Linked DNA regions of Homo sapiens: region 1 is linked to region 2. Evidence: promoter capture Hi-C in 16 types of primary human blood cells and fetal thymus (Javierre and others, 2016). All regions are on one chromosome and are shown on one strand. The core of a region is centred on a gene start or on the middle of the fragment in contact, and the rest is flanking DNA. Distances in the headings are between cores, read along the strand shown. Region 1 overlaps UIMC1 (ubiquitin interaction motif containing 1). Region 2 holds the start of LMAN2 (lectin, mannose binding 2).

The links. The method cuts DNA at HindIII sites, captures the fragments that hold promoters and counts their contacts. A CHiCAGO score of 5 or more calls a contact.
Region 1: a fragment that was not itself captured here is called in contact with the fragment with the promoter of LMAN2 in region 2 in 1 of 17 cell types (monocytes); the score reaches 5.3 in monocytes.

Annotation. Positions count from the first base shown.
Region 1 is chr5:176,899,695-176,905,032 of GRCh38, forward strand. It overlaps UIMC1 (ubiquitin interaction motif containing 1), which reads right to left. Exons shown (of 15, transcript NM_001199298.2): 15 at 5,312-5,338. Among named protein-coding and RNA genes, the nearest start is that of HK3, 3.0 kb to the left of the region's middle. RefSeq lists an enhancer at 472-973. The HindIII fragment of the contact is 505 bases long and covers 3,495-3,999 here.
Region 2 is chr5:177,347,830-177,353,115 of GRCh38, forward strand. LMAN2 (lectin, mannose binding 2) reads right to left here and starts at 3,839. Exons shown (of 8, transcript NM_006816.3): 1 at 3,623-3,839; 2 at 3,344-3,462. The coding sequence starts at 3,818. RefSeq lists enhancers at 3,780-3,969, 3,980-4,029 and a silencer at 3,924-4,138. The HindIII fragment of the contact is 10,936 bases long and covers 1,245-5,286 here.

The DNA of each region.
Region 1 (5,338 bases), core at 2,497-4,996, 450 kb before region 2:
CACAAGCGGAAGGGACTGACTCTGCCGAGAGTGGGCAGGGCTAGCTGAAGAAGCTGAGTCTTGAAGAAAGAACAGCAGTATGCTGACAAAAGTGGTCCTTGACAAAGTGGAGAGCATGTGCACAACCACAAATCACACACACACAGCAATGAGGTGCAGCTCCAGGCGCCTGAAGAGGGTACACCAAGGTAGGAATATATAGTGGGAGAGGAGGTGACAGGCAGACTGCGGAGTCTAGCCTTTAGTCTGTAGCCTGCGCAGGGAGAGTAGGTTCACATCTTAGGTCTTCTCTACTGGAAGAAGGGGAGTGTTAGGCTGCTGTGGAGCTATTGGCGAACAAGCTGTTTTTCTGTGGGAATTTCTCCTCAAAGGCACAGAACCTTGGGGCACCAATGTAGAATACTAGACAGCCTGCAACAATCTTTGTTGAAGGCATGGATACACTTTAAAGCTTCAGGCTGCCTTGTCAGCAGTAACTCTATCCACAGATAGTAGGCCTCCACATGACATCAGGATGGAGACCAGAGATAGTGGCTCCTCTATCAGTAGTGGCATGAAGAGGCCAGGAAACATGCCAAACATCAGTCCTGCTGTGAAGTTTACTGGGTACCAACCAGGCATATAGGCTGTGAAAGGCAGGGAAGTGGGGGATGGGGTGGCAGAGGGTAGAGTGGCTGTCACAAACAACACAGCATCCTGCCTAGCCTGGGATCCCAGTCCCTTTCAACTTTGTTCAGTTGGGAGAGGAGAATGTGGAACTGACTATGAAAGGCCCAGCTGTGATTCATGCAGATAGCCTGCCATTTCTTGAGCCAGGGTGAGGATATGCCCCTGACAAGCATGGCCAGGGCTCTTCATCTGCGTTTCTGGAAGGTCTGTGTCCAGACCCCAGGAGCAGGGGTCCTGGTTCCCTAGTCAGAATGCCAGGGAAAGTCTGGGTCAAGGCCAGTGGAGGGAGAAGGATGGCTGAGCTTGAGGTCTGTGAGCAGCTGGGACAGCCTGGCTGTAGCAGAGGCACTGCAGCTGCCAGCGGTTCTCTTCAGACACCAGATGGCCACTGACCAACAAAGGGAAGGACAAGTCCTCACGAGGTTCCCTCATAGCCCCTTAGTGCCAATCTCCAACTGTAGAGATGGAGCTAAGGAATGAGGAAAGGCAGTTTGCTGGGGGAGAGGTGGGCACAACCAGAGCACTGCCGATGGGCTGGGAGGTCAGGCCTTCCCTCTGCGCTTGCTCACAGGCTTCTCACCACTCACAGTGCCCATGCCAGGCACAGAGATCCTCAATAAGCTCCCCCAATTTGTTCCACACCCTTTATACCGTGAATGTGCCTTGCAGCTCTCCTACACACATCGAGCTACTTCTGTTGTGTCTTTGTTTGCACTGACTTGTCTGGAATGACCCTCCCTTTGGCCTCTCCCACCTTTTCACCTCATTTTTCCTCATCCCTTAAATTATAATCATCAACGACAATGAGGAGCCCTTCTCTGAAAAGCTCCTCCTGGCCGACCCCAGCTGAGTGTGGTCTGCTTATTGGTTCCGTATTATGATGCATGTTCTTGTATCACTGCATTTATATCTGTTTATTAAAGGCATCTGTTTATGTGTTCTTCTTCCCCATTGTACTATGGGCTCCCAGAGAATGTTTCTTATTCACCCGTGCAGCCTCAGACCTCAGTTCTTTATCTGGCAAGGAACAAGTATCAATTAATTTTTGTTAAATTGAAGAGCCCTCCCACAATCTCAATAGTCCACGGCTGGCCAAGCATGATGGCTCACGCCTGTAATCCCAACACTTTGGGAAGCCGAGGTGGACGGATCACTTGAGGTCAGGAATTCATGATCAGCCTGGCCAATACAGTGAAACCCCGTCTCTACTAAAAATTAAAAAAATTAGCCGGGCGTGGTGGTGTGCACCTGTAATCCCAGCTACTCGGGAGGCTGAGGCAAGAGAATTGCTCGAACCTGGGAGGCAGGGTAAGTTGCAGTGAGCCGAGATCACGCCACTGTACTCCAGCCTGGGTGACAGAGCAAGACTGTCTCAAAAAAAAAAAAAAAAAAAAAAAAAGTCCAGGGCTTTTGAAACTGAGAGGAAGCAAGCAAGCTCTTACTGTCTTCCTGGTGCATATGGTTTCAGCAGTCTTTCCACTAGTCCATCTTTCCACTGACAACTACAACCCTCTCATCCACTTACTACCTGCCTTCCCCTCCCCAAATTCCCATCTGCTAACAACCTAAGGCCAAAGCTACCCTGATTCACAGGCAAAAATGAGCTCATCCAAACCTGAAATTTCCCTTGAGTCATTAGTTTTGTGACTGAAATGAGAAGTAGGAAGTAGTGTGCTATAGTACAGAAAGCTTCAGCTCTGGGGTCAGGCAGACCTGGTTTCAAAATCCCATCTCATTACCAACTGAAAGACCTTAGACAAATTTCTTATTCCTCTGAGCCTCGGTTTTCCTTGTATAAAACTTGGAGACTGATGTCTTCATAGGATTTGCTTTAGGTTAGGTAAACCCAGAGGCAGACCTAATTTGAATGCAAATAACTTTATTTGGGAAGTGATCCAGGACAGGGCCAGAATCAGGGCAATGCAAATGATATGCCTAGGGTACAGAATGTAAAGAGACCCTCTCAGGTTCATACGGGTGCCAACCTTGCACTTAGATGAACCCAAGAATAAAGGCTCATCACCCTAGTCCCAGTCCTGATCAGGAAAATACAGAAGAGGAGCTGGAAGCCAGGTAGGAAGAGAAAGAAGCCAAGGAAGTGTACGTTAATTGTTACTGGGAGCTTAGAGAGGTTCACTCCCACAGGGAACCCTGAGAAATAGGTAGAATGTGCCTTAGAGTTGTCCCTCACTGAGTGAGGAAGCTGGGGTATCTATCCTCCCACTTCCACTGGCTGAGAGCTGTCCCAGGGGCACTAACTCCCTGGTACTCTCAGCTTGTGCCAACACAAACCAAGAGAAGTCCTCAGGCAGAGTCTCAGGTACTTGCAACAGGACTCTGTGGGTATACAGCAGAATGGCGAATGCCTGGGGGAAATGGGCGAGGCACAACCTCTGCTGGGGCTGCTGTAAGGACTAAATGAAAAAGCACAACTACAGCGCCTAACAAAGAGAAGTCCCCCTCTATCTCTTCCAATTTACGGCAATAGCTTGTGAAGTTTATGGAGCTTCCCAGCTCTCCGTGAGTTGGCAGCATCAGCAGAACAGCTATTTCTCATCTTTCAGAAGTAAAAGAAATCCAGGGGCCCTAGGAGAACTCTAGATGCCTGGGACCCAAGTTTCCTGTGGAAGCCTGATGGTTGATGGAGCCCGAGTAGTCCCTCCTGAGTACACATTCCTCTGAAAACTATCTCCTCTTGCATCTGCACCCGTCCCCCATCCCTCCACCCCTCAGTGCAACATCATTTGTGACACATAGACTAGCATCACATTAATAACTGCTGCCACTAACTCATTCTTCTATGTGATGACATTGTGCTGGATCAAAGCTTTATCCACATTATGGTAATCCTTAGAACCCTGTTAGTATGATCTTTTCCCATTTTATGGACAAGAAAGCCAGGTCTCAGAGAGGTTAACTTTTATCAGAAGCAGGGTGCAGATGTAGGCTGATCTCACACATTTTATACTTTGTCTCTTCACTCTTTCACTAATGCTCCTCTCACAGGATCACAGCATGGGGAGAATAAGACTGTGGGCAAACAAGACGGTTGTGAGGAGGCGATGGGGGAAGTGGGTAGCTGTTCTTCCCTTGACTCCCCATTAGCTAATAATTAAGCCTGTGGTTCCTGGTCTGGCTGATCCATACCCTCCTGCTGCTGACTCATGTTTTAGGGAAACTGCTCAATTTTAAGCTAAATAATTCACTTTCCAGAAGTACCCTTTCCCTTTTCTTATCTTCAGGCAAACAGATACACACACTGTCCCCTGTTTATACAGCGCTACCTCCAATAAATTGCCATTTAATGAAAGAGAAAACAAGCGAGAGTTAAGCTTATGGGACATAACTGATAAACTACTTTTCACTAGAAGAAAAACAGGAAAATAATCAATACTGGAGTCAAAATATAGCATTTTCTTCAGGAATGAAGAGTAGGGGCACTGTGGTTCCACTGCCATGGACAAAAAGTGGCTTATTTGTTACTCTAAGCCTTTGCTTCCTCATCTGGAAATTGAGATGATAATACCTATACCCCATAGGGTTGCTATGAGGATTAAATGAAGGCCACATACATTGCCTGGACCGTAGTAGTTGCTCAAAAAATAACAGCTATTTCTTATGTGCTGCTAGCCACTAGGTCAGTGCCATCCAACAGCAAGACATTATCTATGGAAGGAAAAGACAGTGAGACTGCCATCTTGCCTTCTTCTAACTCAAAAGGTTGTGTGCAAAGGGACCTAGGCAGGAACAAGGCCTTAATGTTTGTGCTGTCTTCCATCCCAGCTATCTGCTAACTCCCCAGTCTAACACATACCTCGTTTTCATGTTAAAAGAAAAGATAACTTTGGACAAAATCAGAAGTTAGGAGAGTCTTGAGTGTGCCTGTTTATCCTGTCCCAAGATCCTTTCCTGGTCAACAGCCACCTCCCCCAGTTTTTCATTACAACTTCAAATCAGTTTTGGCCAAAACTAGCATTCTTCACATCCTTGTTTGGTCATCTCCTTCAGGTAGCTCCTTCTGCCAATTGACATCCTCTCATCTTCAGAGTCTGCACATGGCATGCACCGAGAACAGACCACATCTCTGTTCTGCACTGGAAGCTCCTAGGCAACACGGTGAGGAATGTGCGCTATGTTAGTAATGTTACCAAAACAGAAGCCATGTCCTGTTGCTGCTAACCTTTGGCATCAAGAGACCCAATCTTGATTTGAACAGATGAATATGCCTGGCATCCCCACTGGTTAATCTATTTAGAAAAAATAATTGCATAGGCATCTAATAACAGAGTGTTCACTTGCACATTCCTGGGAAGAATGGCAGGACACATCCTTCAAATGTTCTATGCTCAGGCTGAGAATTCCACTGTGTGAGTACAAGATGAAGGGACAGGTCACTGAATGGTAGGGATAGCAGAATAGGTAGTGGGAGTCAATGCCCCTGGCACCTCCCAGAATTATGTCAGAAACAGTCAAGGGAGTAACCAATGTTCGGAATTGTGCAGTACACATTAAGTGAATATATACATGGTATGTCAAGGATCAGTAATGGCATTCATTCAGCATGTGATTTATGAGTCTAATAAACTACCTCTACAATGAAAGTATCCCCACCCCAAACCCTGCAACATGAAGGAAAAAAAAATTAAAATTTCCATCTATTGAAATAAGA
Region 2 (5,286 bases), core at 2,589-5,088:
CCGCTGTGCCAGGCACAGTGGTGGTGAGCACCTGTGTCCCAGATACTCAGAGGCTGAGGTGGGAAGATTGCTTGAGTCCAAGAGTTCAAGATAAGACTGGGCAACATAGTAAGATCCCATCTATAATAGAAATTTAAAATTTTAAAAATAACCCCATCTCCAACTACTATTTAAGAGAACACAGTTTCTCAGAATTCATGTACATAAAAACAAAAAGTAGAAGTGGTACTGAACTTGTCTTATTCTGACAGTATTATCCATCCAGATGGGGGTGGGGGGTGACATCCTACTGAGATCTCATGTTTCAAAAAATGTTTACTTTTGTATAATTACTCAAAAACTGTGTAATGCATTTACTTTTATCAAGTGTGTACAGATAATTATAATAATCTCAAACAAAATATTAAAAGTTTCAGTCTCAACAAAATTGAAAAGTTTAAATTATTATATTAATTTTACTTGCAGAAGAATATGGTAGGCTAATGAATAACATTTTCAAGCATTAAATATATTGCATTAGGATAATATTCTGTGTGGAAATGAAAGTACAAGTTCAATTAAAAAACTGACATACTGGCCAGGCACAGTGGCTCACACCTGTAATCCTAGCACTTTGGGAGGCCGAGGTGGGCAGATCACTTGAGGCCAGGAGTCGGAGACCAGCCTCGCAAACATGGCAAAACCTCATCTCTACTAAAAATACAAAAAATTAGCTGGACATGGCAGTGCGCGCCTGTAATCCCAGCTACTGGGGAGGCTGAGGCAGAAGAATCGCTTGAACTCGTGAGGTGGAGGTTGCAGTGAGCTGAGATCGCACCACTGCATTCCAGCCTGGGTGATAGAGCATGACTCTGTCTCAAAAAAAAAAAAAAAAAAAAAAAAAACCTCTACTAAAAACACAAAAACTAGCTGGGCGTGGTGGTGCACACCTGTAATTCCAGCTACTCAGGGGGCTGAGGCAGGAGAATCACTTGAACCAGGAAGGCGGAAGTTGCAGTGAGCCGAGACTGCGCCACTGCCCTCCAGCCTGGGTGACAGAACAAGACTCCGTCTCAAAAAAAAAAAAAAAAAAAGTGGATATCAAATTGCAATATTTAGATTCCACTGAATGTTTAAAATACTGAACAGTTTTAGTTTAAAATGTCAATATTTAAAATATGCTGTCATCCTTTGCAAATACTTAAACCTAATGACAAACAATTTTTGATGCCAACTTTTCAAAAGGTTGCTACAACAGCAAAGAAAGCTTAAAGACCACTGCCGCAGCCTCCGCACAAGACCCCCAAAAGGACAGGGCCTGAGCAGCCTCCCCAGGTCCTATGCTGCAGCCACCAGGCACTTAAGAGTTCTAGTCAACTCTGAGCCACTCCTTCATCTAGACCACCCCCCCTGCACCACAGCAGGAGCTATTTTATGGCTGCTCAGAAGACAGCAGGTGTTCAGGGAATGTTCGCCTGAGTGCATGCCTCTCCCGGATGGAGTGAATGAAGGAGATAAAAAAGGGAAAAGTTTAGGAAGCATCTCTCCAGCTCATTAAAGGAAGAGGCAGTTCTTGGGAAACACTGAACAGAAAATTCTGATTTCCAAGCCATTTCTTTCCAGAGTTTACAGGAAGCACTCCAAATGTTTCAGGAATATCAGCAGAGCCAAATAGAAAGGTGGAGGAAGGAAGGCAAAACAATTGTACTCCAGACTGAAAATTCGATGAAGGCAAGTGCAGAAGCCTCTCAGTCCTGTGACATCCTCGAGCCACTGATGATGCCAACCATCAGCTATCTACAACCAAAATGTAAGCCACTGTCTTAGATGCGTCTATTACTTGTGGCTACTCCTGATTTCTACAGTTCCAGCACTGTTTGCACCTTGCTTTCAAAAAATAATAATAATGCTATACTGAACTCATTTCCATGAAAAATATAAGGCTGAATTATCATTTCTTTAAAATATCTGAAAGCCCTAAGACAGAATGTGACAGAATGTGACTCGGGGGAGATAGGGTGGTTAATGAAGAAATGTCTGCGTGGGTGGCACTTGAATTGAGACTTAACAGATGAGAAGGAACCAAGCAGGCATGAGGAGCCAGGAGGCAGTGTCCCAGACAGAGGGAACAACAGGTGCAAAGGTCCTGAGGCAAGAAGGCAGCCAGGGGGGGCTGGAACAAAATTAACACAGAGAATGACTGGAGATGCACAAGGGGCCAGATTGTGCAGACATAATGCATGCTTACCCCTTCACAGGGGACTCCACGCTCTGAGGATCAGACTGAAAGCTGAAGAAAGTATCCGCAGATGCCACTAACAGCAGTGTGGAGGCTCGGGGCAGGAAGGAGAGGAGGAGCAGAGGGGACGGGCAGACCAGGCAACACAAGGACAGTGTGGGTTCCCAGAACTAAACAAGAAAGTCAACCAGCAGGGATCAGAGAGCAGGGTGATGGAGAAAACTAGAACACTGGCCAACAGCTTAAGCCATGGGAAGGGCTGAGATTAGGCAAGCTGGGGCAGGAGCAGGTCCCGCTCCAAGCTGTAACCCAGCCCCAAATTATTCTTCTTTCCCCTTTTTCCTCACCTTGACTGCCTCAGTGTGGATTCTGTGTAGCAGCTGTCATTGGCCACTGCTCACATACTACATACTACATACTCTGAGGCAAAGGTCACAGACACTAGAACTGCCCACAGGTCCAGTCCCTCCACACTACTGATGACAAGACCCTCAACCAAGCATTGCAAAAAGGGTTCTAAGGGGTTCCTCCACTGTCCAGGTGAAAAGAGTCAAGTACATCGAGTGAACTGCTGGGCTTAGAGATCAGACAAATCAGAGTTTAAATACTGTTTATGACATTTGCTAGCTGGGTTATCTTTGTATAGTCATGAAAGCCATCTATTTCAAACAGCTTGTTTGAAAATTAAATGCAATAAGGCATGGCAAGGTCAGTGCCTAATACACAGCAAAACACCCAATAAAGATCCAGTTCGCTCGGTTCTTCCCATTACTGAGGGGGTTCAAGGCAGACAGCCTGACAGTTCCACTACTTTCTGGCTATGTAACTTTGGGTAAGGCCCTTTCAAACCTGAGTCTTAGCTTCTCAGTGGGTAAAATGGAGATAACATTACTCATCTCGCATGGCTTTTAAAGTGAGGAGGATGTAAAGTGTCAAGCGCAGCTCCTGACACATAGTAAGTACCCAATACCCATCGCCTCTTATTATTGGTGGGTGTGACCGAGATGAGGAAAAGGCCAGGGACGGAGGTGCAAACCTATAAACGAAGCTGGGGTCTCAGCTGCTCGGGAGGCAGGGACTAGCAGCCAACCGCACAGTACGCCTATCCTCTTGAGAACCACTCACCTGGTGGTTCCAGATAGAGCCCTCTTTGCTGCGCTCGTCAGGGGTCAGACGTACGTACTGGCTCGTGAGCATAGTGCTGCCCTGGAAGTCCCAGAGGGGCATAGAGCTGGAACCGACCCCTGTGGGAAGAGACAGGTGCTAAGAGGCCACGCCAGGACTGGCCTCACCAGAGGCAGGAAACCCACAGAGATGCTCTGCTCAGGAGAAAGGGCACGCCTTCCCCTAGCCCTGTTCAGCCTCGCCCTCACTCTTCACTCATTCCCGCCCCAAGGGCTTCACCTTGGTAGGGCTTAATGAGCGAATGCTCCCGCTTGAGATGTTCACTGTTGCCGTCAGTTATATCCGCAGTCACAGACCCCAACAACAAAAGAAGAAAGAGAGGTGTAGTGGGGCCAGGGCCGGGGCCGAGAAGCCCAGGCCTTCCCAGGCACCGCCGGCCCCAGCCCCAACGCCAAATCCAGCCTTCCGCCGCCATTCTCCTCTCCTCTCGGCCACTTCCGCCCTAGAACTTCCGCCTTCCGGGGGTCCCATCTATTGGCCTCCGGCCGGAAGCTCTTCAACTTTACTGTCGCCAGGGAGTCAAAAAGCAAAGCCTCCGCAGCAGACGGGGCGGCAGCTGCATTGGCCGGGCAGCCTCTCATCCTGGTTGAGTGCAGTTTCATCTCCTTAGAGGCTCCAAGGCACACGCCGGCCAGCCCCAGCAATGGGTTCTTTCGAGCGACAAGAGCTGTAACCAGTCACGGAACAGCACGTTAGGCTTGCGAGCCAATGAGGAGCAGAGGGATGGTTGGAGCCGGCGGGAGCGCGAGGGCCGTCCGCGACTCGGGGCATGCTGGAATTTGTAGTTTTTGTCGGTCGCTCTAATGGGGCGGATTCGCGAAGACTAGGACGTCTTGGGCTTCTGGCCGCAAGTCCCGTCTCTGGAATAACCTTTTCTAGTCCTGGAGAAAGGAGCTCTGAATTGAAGGCGGAGTCCTGCATTCCAACCCTTGTCCTCCCCGGGTGGCCCTGGGCAAGCCTTTAAGCCGTGCCTGCCGTCAGGCGCCCCAGCTTCGCGCCTTTGGAGACTCAGAATTCCCAATTATTTGAGGGCCTCCACTACCCTCAACTCCTCAGGCCTAGTCGGGTTGAAGCAAGAGGAACAGACACAGATCCTGGCCTGGGACCCCAGTGATGACTGGAACTCATCCCTATGCAAAAGAGCGCAGTGCCTGGTACAGCAAGTAACGTCCATGGAAGGCCCAGGAAAGCTGTGAATCAGAGGTCGAAAACTGGTGGCCTGCAGCTGAATAGAGCTCTGTTTTACCTGCCAATATTCTAATAAATGGCTTAACTACCAGTATTTTAAAGTCAGAATATAGAGGCTGGGCGTGGTGGCTCACGCCTGTAATCCCAGCACTTTGGGAGGCTGAGGCCGGCGGATCACGAGATCGGGAGATCGAGACCATCCTGGCTAGCACGGTGAAACCCCGTCTCTACTAAAAAATACAAAAAATTAGCCGGGCGTGGTGGCAGGTGTCTGTAGTCCCAGCTACTCGGGAGGCTGAGCCAGGAGAATGGCTTGAACCCAGGAGGCAGAGCTTGCAGTGAGCCGAAATCGCGTCACTGCACTCCAGCCTGGGCGACAGAGCGAGACTCTGTCACACACACACACACACACACACACACACACACACACACACACAAAGTCGGAATATGTACATTCACATCAGAAATCCAGACTTCCGGCTGAGCTCAGTGGCTGAGGCCTGTAATCCTAGCACTTTGGGAGGCAGAGGCGAGCAGATTACCTGAGCTCAGGAGTTTCAGACCAGCCTGGGCAACACGGTGAAACCCCGTCTCTACTAAAATACAAAAGAAATTAACGGCGTGGTGGCGGACACCTGTAGTCCCAGCTACTCGGGAGGCTGAGGCAGGAGAATTGCTTGAACCCAGGAGGCAGA